Linked DNA regions of Homo sapiens: region 2 is linked to region 1. The links are contacts of gene promoters, found by promoter capture Hi-C in blood cells and fetal thymus (Javierre and others, 2016). All regions are on one chromosome and are shown on one strand. Each heading gives the region's core, a stretch centred on a gene start or on the middle of the fragment in contact. The rest is flanking DNA. Distances are from core to core; before and after follow the strand shown.

Evidence for each region. The method cuts DNA at HindIII sites, captures the fragments that hold promoters and counts their contacts. A CHiCAGO score of 5 or more calls a contact.
Region 2: a fragment that was not itself captured here is called in contact with the fragment with the promoter of SDCBP2 in region 1 in 1 of 17 cell types (naive CD4 T cells); the score reaches 5.8 in naive CD4 T cells.

Annotation. Positions count from the first base shown.
Region 1 is chr20:1,327,557-1,333,709 of GRCh38, reverse strand. SDCBP2 (syndecan binding protein 2) reads left to right here and starts at 4,571. Exons shown (of 9, transcript NM_080489.5): 1 at 4,571-4,625. All of the region lies in intron 2 of FKBP1A-SDCBP2 (FKBP1A-SDCBP2 readthrough (NMD candidate)), which reads left to right. The region is part of intron 1 of SDCBP2-AS1 (SDCBP2 antisense RNA 1); the gene reads right to left. The HindIII fragment of the contact is 15,880 bases long and covers 1-6,153 here.
Region 2 is chr20:1,733,869-1,740,287 of GRCh38, reverse strand. All of the region lies in intron 2 of LOC124904858 (a long non-coding RNA gene), which reads left to right. Among named protein-coding and RNA genes, the nearest start is that of SIRPG, 79 kb to the right of the region's middle. The HindIII fragment of the contact is 3,460 bases long and covers 2,707-6,166 here.

The sequences.
Region 1 (6,153 bases), core at 3,322-5,821:
TGCCGTGGCTTCTGACGGCCTTTGAGATGGCAGCTGCTCCATCACCCCCAGTCCTGGAGTAAGGAGACATGGGGACCCTGCCAGCCCTTGACGGGTAGTAGCGTGCATGAGAATGACACTTCCTATTAGGAGCCACCAAGATTTCAGGGTTGTTTGTTGCTGCAGCATAACCTGGCCTACCTTAACTCACACACATCTCCAAAAAGCAAAACCAAGATGGAGCTCAGAAATAGCATGAAGGACATTGTGTTTGGAGACCAAATGCTCATAGTGGACATCTTTGGTGTTCACGCCACAGGAGGGACTGGAAGTGGCAATAGAGTTGGCCCTTTGTGGGGCCTTAGTACCGTTAGGGCAAACCTCAGAGAAAATCCATCCAAACTCTTCCCTGGCCAAATACGGAGACTGAGGTCCAGAAAGGGCAGGGCTTCACAGCATGCTATAGTAGAGGCTGGCACAGAACCTGCTAACAATAGACTGCCTCCATTTCCCAGTCTCCCATGCAGCTCTATGTGGCCATGTGATCAAATTTTTGCCACCTAAGGACTTCTTTGTGGGTTTCTTAAAGAGAAATCTGTGACTCAGCTGCACTAGGGTAGGAGACTCCTAGAGGTTCAGAGCCAAGGCCTGGCCTTACCACTCTTGGGGTGTGTTGCCTTGGGCAAAGTGCTTCACTCTGAAGCTGGGAATTATGGTGAACAGATGAGATCAGTGTATGCCCAGTGCCCAGCAGAGCACCCAGTGTGCAGGAGCTCAATAAATGCTACGCTTCCTGTTATTATTTCAATTCAGCAGTAGGAACAAAGCTGTGATGACATAAGCCAGGGTCTTGCTGCACTACCCAGATTCCATGCAGAGGGCTGGAGTGTAGAGCAGCTCCTTCTCTGCCCAGCCGACATTCTCTCTTCTTCTGGGAAGAGCATCTCTATTTTCACTCCAATCAGATGACTGTTTCTGTGACATGTAGCCATGAGAAAGTAGGAAACTAACATTTACTAAATGCCAGCTGTGTCCTAGGTACTTCACATGGTTACCTCATTTAGTCTTCAGGATAAGTCTATAAAGAAGGTAGGTGTGGAAACTACAGCTCAGAGAGGTTTAGTAACATGTGCAACATCACAGAGCTGGGACTCAGATCGGATGCCCCAGCCCAACCCATCTTTTAAATAAGGGTCAGCCATTTAAGTTTCTAACTGTGATTGACTTTTCTAGGAGGGGCATTTATTCACTCAGTCAATATTTACTGAGGCCAGGTGTGGTGGCTCACGCCTGTAATCTCAGTACTTTGGGAGGCCAAGGTGGATACATCCCTTGAGCCCAGGAGTTCAAAACCAGCCTAGGCAACATGGCAAAACCCCATCTCTACAGAAAATACAAAAATTAACCAGCTGTGGTGGCATACGCCTGTGGTCCCAGCTATTCAGGAGGCTGAGGCAGGAGGATTGTGGGAGGCTGAGGCAGGAGGATCTTGGGAGGCTGAGGCAGGAGGATCGTAGGAGGCTGAGACAGGAGGATCACTTGAGCCTGGCAGACAGAGCAAGACCATATCTCAAAAAAAAAAAAAAAATTTACTGTGAGCCTGCTATGTGCCAGGCATAGTACTAGGCCTCAGGGTTAAGACAAGCCCCTGCCATCATGGAGCACCCATTCCAGATGGCATGGAGACTTCACCTCATGAGCCAACTCTAGGTGACGGTAGCTGCCTGCAGCATTATGACGAGAGGATCCGGAGAGGCCTCTGGGCCCAGCAGGAAGGACATTAGTGGTTGATTACTCAGGGTGCCATGGGTGCTACCAGGGAGTTTCTGAGTGTGTGCTGTTTACTGGCCACCCAAAGTTTTAGACTTGTTCATACAAATATATAACAAAGCAGAAATATTGTCTGGTCAGAGCACAGTTCCACTCCTTATTTTGAAAAGAGTAACTGGCTGGGTGTGGGGTCTCACACCTGTAATCCCAGCACTTTGGGAGGCTCAGGCAGGCAGACTGCTTGAGCCCAGGAGTTTGAGACCAGTCTGGGCAACATGGCAAAACCCTGTCTCTACAGAAAATAAAAAAATTAGCCAGGTGTGGCAGTGTGAACCTGTCGTCCCAGCTAATAGGGAGGCTGAGGTGGAAGAATCCTTTGAGCCTGGGAGGTGGAGGCTGCAGTGAACCATGATTGCACCACAGCACTATGGCCTGGGTGACAGAGCGAAATGCTGTCTCAAAAGAATGACCACTGTAGAGCTAATAACTTGGCCCTGCCCTCAGGGAACTTAGGGTCTAACTAGTAGCCTAAAAGGTACACATGAGTACAAGATGATGATTATTAAAGAATGGAACAGGAGCGTCTGATCCAGAGTCAGAGGCGGGAGAGGCCACATGGATGTGGGGGATCCCAGAGGCTTCCTGGAGGAGCTCAGTGGTGGATGTGGCTAGGTGGGTGGGGGCAGGAGAAGGTGTTCCAGGGGCAGCAGCAGGACAGGCAAAGGTATGGAGTCAGGGCAGGTAGGAAGTGGGTGTGCAGTGGGGCAGGAATGGTGGGGCTCCCAGTCCAGCTGAGGCAGAGGTGCTGGGGGAGTGCTGAGGAGGTAATAAAGGGAGTGGGCTGTGGAGGTCTCCATGTCAGCCCTGGGAGTTTAGCCCAGACCCTGAAGCAGGAGGGAGCCACTGAAGAGTTCGAGCAAGGGCATGCCCAATGAAAGATATTTCCAGGTGGCTGGAAGTCAGTGATGGGTGGCAACTATCCAAAGAGGGAATAGAAAGAGAGTCCCTGTAGGTATTAAATAGGTGGGAGTTAGGGGACCTGGGCTCCATGCTGACATGCTGGGACCACAGGCAAGCCCCTTACCTGGAAGGGCCTGCTTCCTCCTCCCTCTTCTATAAAGGCCCTTTCAGGTCATGACTGAATGAAGTGAGGTGGGGGAGGAGTGGCTTGGTTTAGTTAGGATCTCTATTTTCCACTTTGCTTTGGCCTTGGACACCTGACCTAAGGTGGGTCCATCACCCACGTTACCTCAGCTTCAGGCCCACACAGCTTACTCTGAGGTTGCCCCACACCTCAGCTTTCTGAAACAGTATGTCCCATAGAAGAGAAGACATGAACTTGGCCCACTTTCCAGCTAACTTGAGAGAGAAACTTTGCCTCTGTGCCTCAGTGTCCCCACCTGGAGGAATGGTGTGAGTCACACCTACTCTGCAGGGATGGCATGAGAAGCCATTGAGATAATGCCTTTAAAGTGCCAGGGGTAGAATCTCTGTGCTCTCTGGGAGTAAGTGCTGAATTAGTGGCAAATGTCTTTCTTGTTATTATTCCTATTGTGTGTTTCCTGTGTGGGACTCTGGGCTGTAAGCTCTTCATTGGCAGGCACAAGATCTGACACCCAAGGCTAGTGCAACTCTGCCAGGTGGGTCATGGGAACTGTGACGTAGGCCTGCCTGGCCCAGGAAGCAGCCCAGATACTGACACACCCTGAGTGTGTACAGCGTCAATCCTCATGGGACTGCCCAGCACACGAGTCCCTCGTCCCTCCCCAGGCACCCAGTGCGACAGGCACCCTCACCCAACCAAACCCACCAGGATCTAAACTAAATTCTTCCTCCTTTTCTGTTCAAATTTATATAATTATTTTTGGAATAAGTAGTACATTTAAACTTTTCAAAATTTAAGACACCAAAAATGTGCCATAAAAAAAAAAATCTCCACCTCAGCACACAGCTCCTTAGGTCTGCTCCCAAGAGACAACCACTCTAAATTCCCATTAAAATAATCAAACTTAATTGCTTCCCCCTTACAAAAGTCATGAGCATTCAGAGCAAAAGCTAACTTAAAAAAAAAAAAACCACCTTGGAACACACAAAAGTACAAACTGAAAACCTCACCCTCAATGCTGCCATTCAGAGATACTCAGCATTTTAGCGTATGTCCTCCTAGACTGCTTTCAACGCACATCCACTTTACAAAAAATGAAAACAAAATGCAAGAAGAGATTCACAATATTGATTTTTCAACATCTCACTAGAATCTCAGAAATGTTTCCTCATACCTTCTTCCTTAAGTGACTTTAATAGCTCTGTGATCTTCCACAGACAATGATTTATTCAAGCAGACCACAGAGATGGGCATTTGGGATTTCTACATTTTCCTTACTAGAAGCAGCAGTGATGGATGGGCCCTGTGACTCCACTGTAACAAATTCCTAGAAGAAATGCTGGGTCACAGGATATGACCACTTTTTAATATCCTGGCCTAGACCCCTAGATACCTATCACAAACCGCCCTCTAGCCAACTGCCTCGATCAGCAGGACTAGGTGTCCAACCCAAATTTAGAGCTATTTAAGAAAAGGCCAAGAAGTCTTGGTTCATAACCGTCTGAACAGCAGCTGTGAGGGCCTTAATCCCACCTCCAAATCCAGACTAAGGCCAAAGGCCTCCTCTGGGCTGGCAACCTGCCTTGTTTACCCAGCCACAGCCCTCACCTGTGCCCATCCCAGTCCAAGGTGAGTCAGCTGAACAGGGGACAGGCACCACCCTTCCCAGATCAGGAAGCCAGCTGAGAGACAGGGCTACGTTTCAGGGAGGGAAACAGATTCAGCAGCGGCAGCAGCTGGAGAAGGTCGTGGAGCAGCACCTTGCCTGCAGGTAAGCGCTGGGGGCCCTGACCCAATCCTGGCTGGGATTGGGATGAGTGAGACCTGCTCTCACCCTGTCCCCTTCCCTCCCTGCCCCTTCCCTTCTGGGACTTCCCAGGCAGCTTCCTTTCGAAGTGCTTCACTCCAAGCAGTCAAGTGTGAAGTGGGGTTTCTTCTTCTGATCCCAGCCCTGGACCAAGTTTGATTAAGGGCTGAGTGATTTTCTTCACCCAGACATCATGAGGGCCCCCGATGCCTTCTGACTGCCCATGACTGTGCTCAAGGAGATGAGATCCACACTTTGCTCCTTGAAAGGCCAATTCCAGCCGAAACCAGAGGCTGCAGGCAGGCAAAAAGCCCATTTCTCCCAAGGAATCCACAGCTCAGGCCGACTTCTCTGGCCTGAGGCTGTTTCTATCAAAAAACCTTCCTGCCACAGCACTGAAACACCTGCTGGGGAACTGCGCCAGGGGCTTCACCTTTCTAAGAACTGGTTTCTTCATCTGGAGACTGAAAATAGCCCACAAAGTCAGGAGAATGGAAGGACATACTGGACACAGGAGCCAGTGCATGCCCTCCTCAGCAGGGTCTCAGAAAATGGGGCAGAAAACGAGCCTGGTATGGGCTGGGCGAGCACTGGACAGGCAGCTTCACGTACAGTGGCCCAAGCTCATGACAATTCCACCACCATCACTTCCCACCTGGGCTCCTGCTCCCACTCCTGCCCTGTAGCCCATCCTCCAAACATCAGCCAGAGGAGGCCTGTCAAAATAACCCTTGGACCTTGGCACTCTGCTGCTACAAATCCCCCAGTGGCTCCCATCTCACTACAGTAAATGCCAAAGTCCTCACCATGACCTCCAGGCCCTCCAGGATCTGGCCCCTCTCACTTCTCCAGCTTCCTCCCCACTACTCCTCCTTACTCCCTCTCTGCACAACTGGCTTCTCACTGGCAGATGTCCTCTAAACACAACACCAACTCCCACCTGAGAGGCTCTGCAATGGCCGTGCCCACCCCATTAGGCCTTTCCTCAAATGTCACCCCACCCAGCCAGCAAGGCTTCTGAACCTCCTGACATGACCCTCCGTCCTGCTCTTTCTCTCCAGTGCCTCCCACCATCTAACACAGCACACAGAGTCACAAAGCCTATTTATCCAGCTCTTCCCCCAAAGAAAGTACATTTGGGGACCAAGTCTTCTTTCCTTCACTGCTGATACCTAGAACAGTACTCAGACTTAGCAGGTGCTGAGTAAGTAAGCGCTGAAACAATGAATAAACAGCTAACTTTTACTGAATGCCTATTATGTGCTAGGTGCTGTGCTAAATGCTTTCCATATACACCTTAACTCTTTTTAAAAATCTTTCAGTCTCCAGACAACTGTGATGCAACTATTGTTATCCAGATTACAAAGGAAGAAATGACATTCAAAGGGGATTTGCCTATGCTGTGCTCTCACAAGTCAGAAGCAGTCAGTCTGAACCCTGCCCTGCCTGGGCCTGGGTTCAGGCGTGTCTGCTTGAGGAAGTCACAGCTTTT
Region 2 (6,419 bases), core at 3,187-5,686, 410 kb before region 1:
GTAATGAGTATAATTAACTTAGAAGAACAGTCTTTTGATCTAAATGAAGTCATGCTTCATAGAGTAATATGTAGGCTCACCTTTTGTAGCCCTCATTTTAATCATTATCTTTTAGCGCCATCTTCTTAATGTAGCTATTAACTTTTGAAGTAGATGCTGATGGTTCTTGTGATTGGCAATCTGTGTCTTCTGATTTCCATCTAATCAAGCTTTTTCTAGGCTGCTGGCATGAGACTGCACTTTGCTTTATCATTGAGTGCCCCTCATGCTGTTCTCAAAAAGAAGGGGTTAGTTACACTGTGACCAAGTGCTAAAAAAAAGCACTTCGCTCACTACACATGTATCTCACAGCCTATAAGGTGAGAGCACGGCAGAAGCTGCAAGTACAAAGTGGAAGTTTACTAAATCCACCCCAGCTTCAGTTAATGCAACTATTGACAATAATACTTTGTTAAAACAACAACAAAAAGGACAAATACCCAAACAAGCAAAACATGAGGACAACAGGTATAACCCGAGACTGTTCCAGTGAAACCAAGCCATAGGCTTTCCATAACTGATGATAAGGATGCCAGCTCTGTGGATTAACAAGTGGGAGGGACCAAAGGAATCCCAGAGGGAGGAGTTGGCCTTGGAGAGGCAAGAGAAATTCTACAATACCAGATAAGAAAAAGTGTCAGTAGGTCCACAGCACCTGGAAAAGCCAGAGGTCAGTGACTGACAACATACAGTAAGATTCATTCAACACTTAGCAATTTCCTGTTGTTTGCCAAGCATCAGGTATGACAATTAGTACTATTTATTCAGCATCATTGCATAGCAAACACTTTATTTTATTTAATCTCCACAAAAGAGTGTAAGGTAAGTATTGCTACTTCTGGTTTACAGGGGATAAAACTGAGCCCAGGAGGGGCCAACTGACTTGCCCAACTCCTGGCCATTCCCTCCTGTTCTGGGCATTTCTCCTCTGCCTCTCCCCATTTCTCTGCCTACATGGGGAGTAGATGGGAATGGTGACTTCCCATGTTAAAGGTGTTAAAATCTGTGTGACCCTCTCTCCCACAGAGGTTTGATTATCGTTTTCTCCTCCCATCATTTCTCTTCCCTTTCCAAATGACCCCTCCAAAAACACATCCTTGTTTAACTAAACCTATTTCCTCTGCTGGCAAGAGAGAGGAAATGGGTTTTGATTGTGTTGCAAAAACGTCAGGGGTCCACAACACATTTTACATCTGATTCAATTTTATGTTTTATCATTTTATATTACTAGAGAGACTTTGTTTTTACTTTTTTTAATTTAAAAAGAAAAGAGGTTGATTTTGCTCATGACTGATGGCTGGAAAGATCAAGGCTAGGCATCTGCATCTGGTGAGGGCCTCAGGTTGCTTCCACTCAAGGCAGAAGGGGAAGGGGAGCTGGCATGTGCAGAGATCACATGGCAAGAGAGGAAGCAACAGAGAGAACAGGGGAGATGCCATGCTCTTTTGAACCACCAGCTCTTAATCATAAGAAATCACTCACTGTGCCCACCCCCCCACCCTCTGCAGGGAGGGTATTAATCTATTCATGAGGGATCTGCCCTCATGATCCAAATACCTGCCATTAGGCCCTACCTCCAATATTGGGGATTGTATTAGTCTGTTCTCACACTGCTAATAAAGACATATCCAAGACTAGGTAATTTATAAAGGAAAGGAGGTTTAATGGACTCACAGTTCCACATGAGTGGGGAGGCCTCACAATCATGGCAGAAGGCAAAGGAGGCACAAAATCATGTCTTACATGACGGCAGGCAAGAGAGCTTGTGCAGGGGAACTCTTATTTATAAACCCATTGGATCTCGTGAGACTTATTCACTACCACAAGAACAGTATGGGGAAACTGGCCCCATGATTCAATTATCTCCACCTGGCCCCACCCTTGACATGTGGAGGCTATTACAATTCAAGATGAGATTTGGGTGGGGACACAGCTAAACCATATCAGGGATCAAATTTTAACATGAGGTTTGTAGTGGACAAACATCCAAACCATAGCAAGTGATCAATTCACCTATCAATAACCAATAAGCATATAAAAAGCTTCTTACTCTCTAGTAAATAAAGATGGCAAATTAAAACAATAAAATGTAATTTTCTATCCATCAGATTGAGAACTTAAAAAGTGATAATTGATAATTCCTCAAGCTAGAGAAAGTACAAGGAACCAGACTCCCATTATCTGCTGGCGGGAGTGTAAACTGTTGCAACTTTTCCTTCACAGAAATACCTACCTAAGAATGTTTCGATCTGTTCTATTAAGTATCAGATGGCAGGTTCAGAACAGTGCATATGATTTTCTCTCATTTAGAAAATGTACCAGTGGTCTTCTCTGGAGAGTGGGGCTGAGGGTCTAAGTAGAGATGGAAGTTTTTTTTTGAGACGGAATCTCACTGTTGCCCAGGCTGGAGTGCAGTGGTGTGATTTTGGCTCACTGCAACCTCCACCTCCCAGGTTCAAGCAATTCTCCTGCCTCAGCCTCCTGAGTAGCTGGGATTACAGGTGTGTGCCACCATGCCCAGCTAATTTTTATATTTTTGGTAGAGACAGGGTTTCACCATGTTGGCCAGGCTGGTCTCAAACTCCTGACCTCAGGTGATCTGCCTGCCTCAGCCTCCGAAAGTGTTACGATTACAGGCATGAACCACCGCACCTAGACAAGGAAGCTTTTTTAACCATAGAATCTTAGGTAACTCTTTTTCTTACCATGTACATATATACTGTTTAAGTATCCAAATTTTAAAACCAATTTTTAATTTTAAAAATCTCAACTTGAATTTATCTGAGATTTCAGCTCATATTCACTGCAGAGTTATTTATAATATCAAAAAATGCAAACTTTATATCCAACAGTTTGGTATAAATTGGAAAAAAATAAACTAAACATTAAAAACCATATTGTGGAATATTTTGCAACATAGGCAAATATTCAAATACAGTAAATGAAAAACTGATTATAGATTATATTTCAATCTCCAATTGTGTAATAATCATATATGTACACGTATATGGTCAGGTCTCACTCTGTCTTCCAGGCTGGAATGCAGTGGCATAATCATTGCTCACTACAGCCTCAAACTCCTAGGCTCAAGGATCCTCCCACCTCAGCCTCCCAAGTAGCTGGGACTACAGGTGCATGCCAGTATGCCCTGCTAAACTTCATATGTTTTTGGAGAAACAGAGTCTCACTATTTTGCCCAGGCTATGCTTGAGCTCCTGGCTTCAAGGGAGACTTCTGCTCTGCTCACCCTGAAGATCTCAACTTAAAAGCCATATCCTGGCCGGGTGCGGTGGCTCACGCCTGTAATCCCAGCGCTTAGGGAGGTTGAGGCAGGCAGATCATGAGGTCAGGAGATTGAGAGCATCCTGGCTAACACGGTGAAACCCCGTCTCTACTAAAAATACAAAAAATTAGCTGGGCATGGTGGCATGCGCCTGTAGTCCCAGCTACTTGGGAGGTCGAGGCAGGAGAATCGCTTGAACCTGGAAGGCAGACATTGCAGTAAGTGCAGATGGGAGATCGCGCCACTGCACTCCAGCCTGGACAACAGAGCAAGACTCTGTAAAAAAAAAACAAAAAAAAAAAAAACAAAAAACCATATCCTGGAGGATGCAAATTAAGTCACATCTGCCAGGCAGGTATTCCCTTTTTTTTACAGCAGGTATCTCACATGATAATTACAAATACATTTGCCTCTCAGCCAACAAATATTTATTGAACCATACTCTGTGCCAAGCAATGTGGTTGGTACTAGAAATTAGGCGGAAAAATTCTTGTTCTTGTGTAACTTGCACTCAAATAACTGTAAGGTTACGCCTGTGCTAAGTGCTAGGAACGAGTATGTGGTAGTCCGAAAAACCCATGAAAAGGCAAATTGTACACAGAAACTAGCAAGGATTGCCCTAATACAAGAAATCCTAAGGAGGGGAATTAACCAGACCAAAGAGGGCATCGTTACCCAAGGAACCACACGTTCAAGAAGTAAAAGGCCAAAAAGGCTGTAGCAGAGCCAAGGGGAGTGTGCTGGAAGATGCCAGGCATGCCAGGCCGCCTGCACGTGAAGCACTTGTTGATCTGTTGTCTGGAAACAATGGGGTTATTAGGCGACGGGCAGAGGGAGGATCATACCTGATTAATAGGGACGGTTCCCCTCTGGGCTGAGAGTCTGTGTGTCCGTCTCACTCGGTGGCATCCCAGGAACCCAGAATAGCACTGCACGTAATAGGTGCTCCATAGGGTACCGGCCTGGGTGAACGGGGGACGGGCCTCTGCGGCCGGATGGACCACCCAGGGCCACACCTCCAGCGGCGACCCACATCCACGGCCCCCATATCCCAGGGCGGCCGCAGCAGGAGAGGGAGGGAGGGAGTCCCAGGGCCGCCCCGCAGACCGCCCCTGCCCTCTGGGTCCCCACGCCGCTGCCAGCCTCCTGCCGAGGTTCGGACTCCCGGGGGCCTTGAGGAACCGAGAAGCCGCCTCCTCCCGGGTGGGCGACGTCGCAGGACCGGGACGCTTCACAGAAGTCTCCCTACTGGGCACTCATCTCCCGCGGCCGGCAGCACCGGGCTCTGGAAGTGCCAAGACTTTGTTTTTTCAAGAGACAGGGTCTGGCTGTATTGTCCACGCTGTCCTTGAACTTCTGAGCTCAAGTGATCCTCCCACCTCAGCCTCCCTGGTAGCTGGGACTACAGGTGGATGCCGTCATGCCTGGTTACTAGAGGGACTTACACACACACACACACACACACACTAAAAAAAACCTACTAAACTACTTTTTAGAGAAGTTTTAGGTTCACAGAAAAATTGAACAGAAAGTACAGGGAGTTCCCATATACCCACTTGGTGTTGTACACTCTATGGATGTATAATGACATGCATCCACCATTGATGTATTGTACAGAATAGTTTCACTGTCCTAAAAATCCCTGTGCTCCACCTATCCAGCCTCTCTTTTTTTTTCTTTTTCTTTTTCTTTTCTTTTCTTTTTTTTTTCTTTTTTTTTTTTGAGATGGAGTCTTGCTCTGTCACCCAGGCTGGAATGCAGTGGCGCGATCTCAGCTCCCTGTAACCTCTCCCTCCCGGGTGTAAGCATTTCTCCTGCCTTGGCCTCCTGAGTAGCTGGGATTACTGGCACGTGTCACCATGCTTTGCTAATTTTTATATTTTTAGTAGAGACGGGATTTCACCGTGTTGGTCAGGCTGGTCTTGAACTCCTGATATCAGGTGATCCCCCTGCCTCTGCCTCCCAAAGTGCTGGGATTACAGACATGAGCCACTGCACCTAGCTGACTAAACCTCTTTTCTTTATAAATTACCCAGTGTCAGGTATTTCTTTATAGCAGTGTGAGAACAGACTAATACAGTAAGTATTATACATAAATGCAGCTGGTCTTCCTAAGGATGGTTGCCCCTTAAAGGAAAGCTCAGTTTCGTCCAGCAGTTTCCCGTAATTTTAGAATTTCCTTTTCAAAAGTGTCCAAGGCTAGGACAGTGTATCAGGTCAAAGTGTGTTGCTTTGTGAGCATCACTCCACAAAGTGTCACCAGTGAGTCATGAGTCCCTCTCCTGCATGTAACAGCTGTTCATGCAATTCTCTTCGAGAGAATTGAACTCATCCTCATGTTTCCTTTGGTTTTGAACAAACAGGAATTGGTCACAAATGAAAATACAAGTCTGAATTTCATGCAATAGGGAACAGCTACAATTTTAACAGCATGCTATGTAATTTTAGGCCAAAAGAAATGAAACTACTTATGGTAGACTGCCAATGCTACGACCTGGAACACCTGCTGTGAAATAGCAGCAGAGGAGACAGTTATCTTTTGTTTTATTCCTGAAACCAGAATCTCCTGCCCATAGACAGAGATCAAAACCTCCATTCTAAAGAGAGGCAGTTGGAGAGAACAGCCCAAATAAAGGCAAAACCTCACCAAAAAAGAAAGGGAGATCTGAATTCAGGAGGACTCACCCTTTTACACCCTGTGAAACCTCTGGAGTCTGAGGAACATAGTGCATTAATGCTGGTACCAAGCACTGAGCCCAAGAGGGAAGGCAGCATGTTCAGTGTTGGGAGGTCCCTCTGAATCCTGCTGACTACAGCGGACATGTCTACCTAAGAGAAGAAGCTTAGATAAAATTAATATAAGTAGAAGGTCTATTTGGGCCAAATTTGAAGACTGTAACCCAGGAAACACCTCCAAGTCACTTTGGAGAATAAAGAACAGACTCGAGCTTTTAAGGAAAAAGGACAAACCAGGGGAGGGGATGATTACAAAAGTTTTTGTCAGGAATTCTCATTGCTTTACAAAAATAACATTGATTAGTAACCTTTATACGTTATTTAACTATAGAATATGACTTATAGTGTCCACATATGGCAT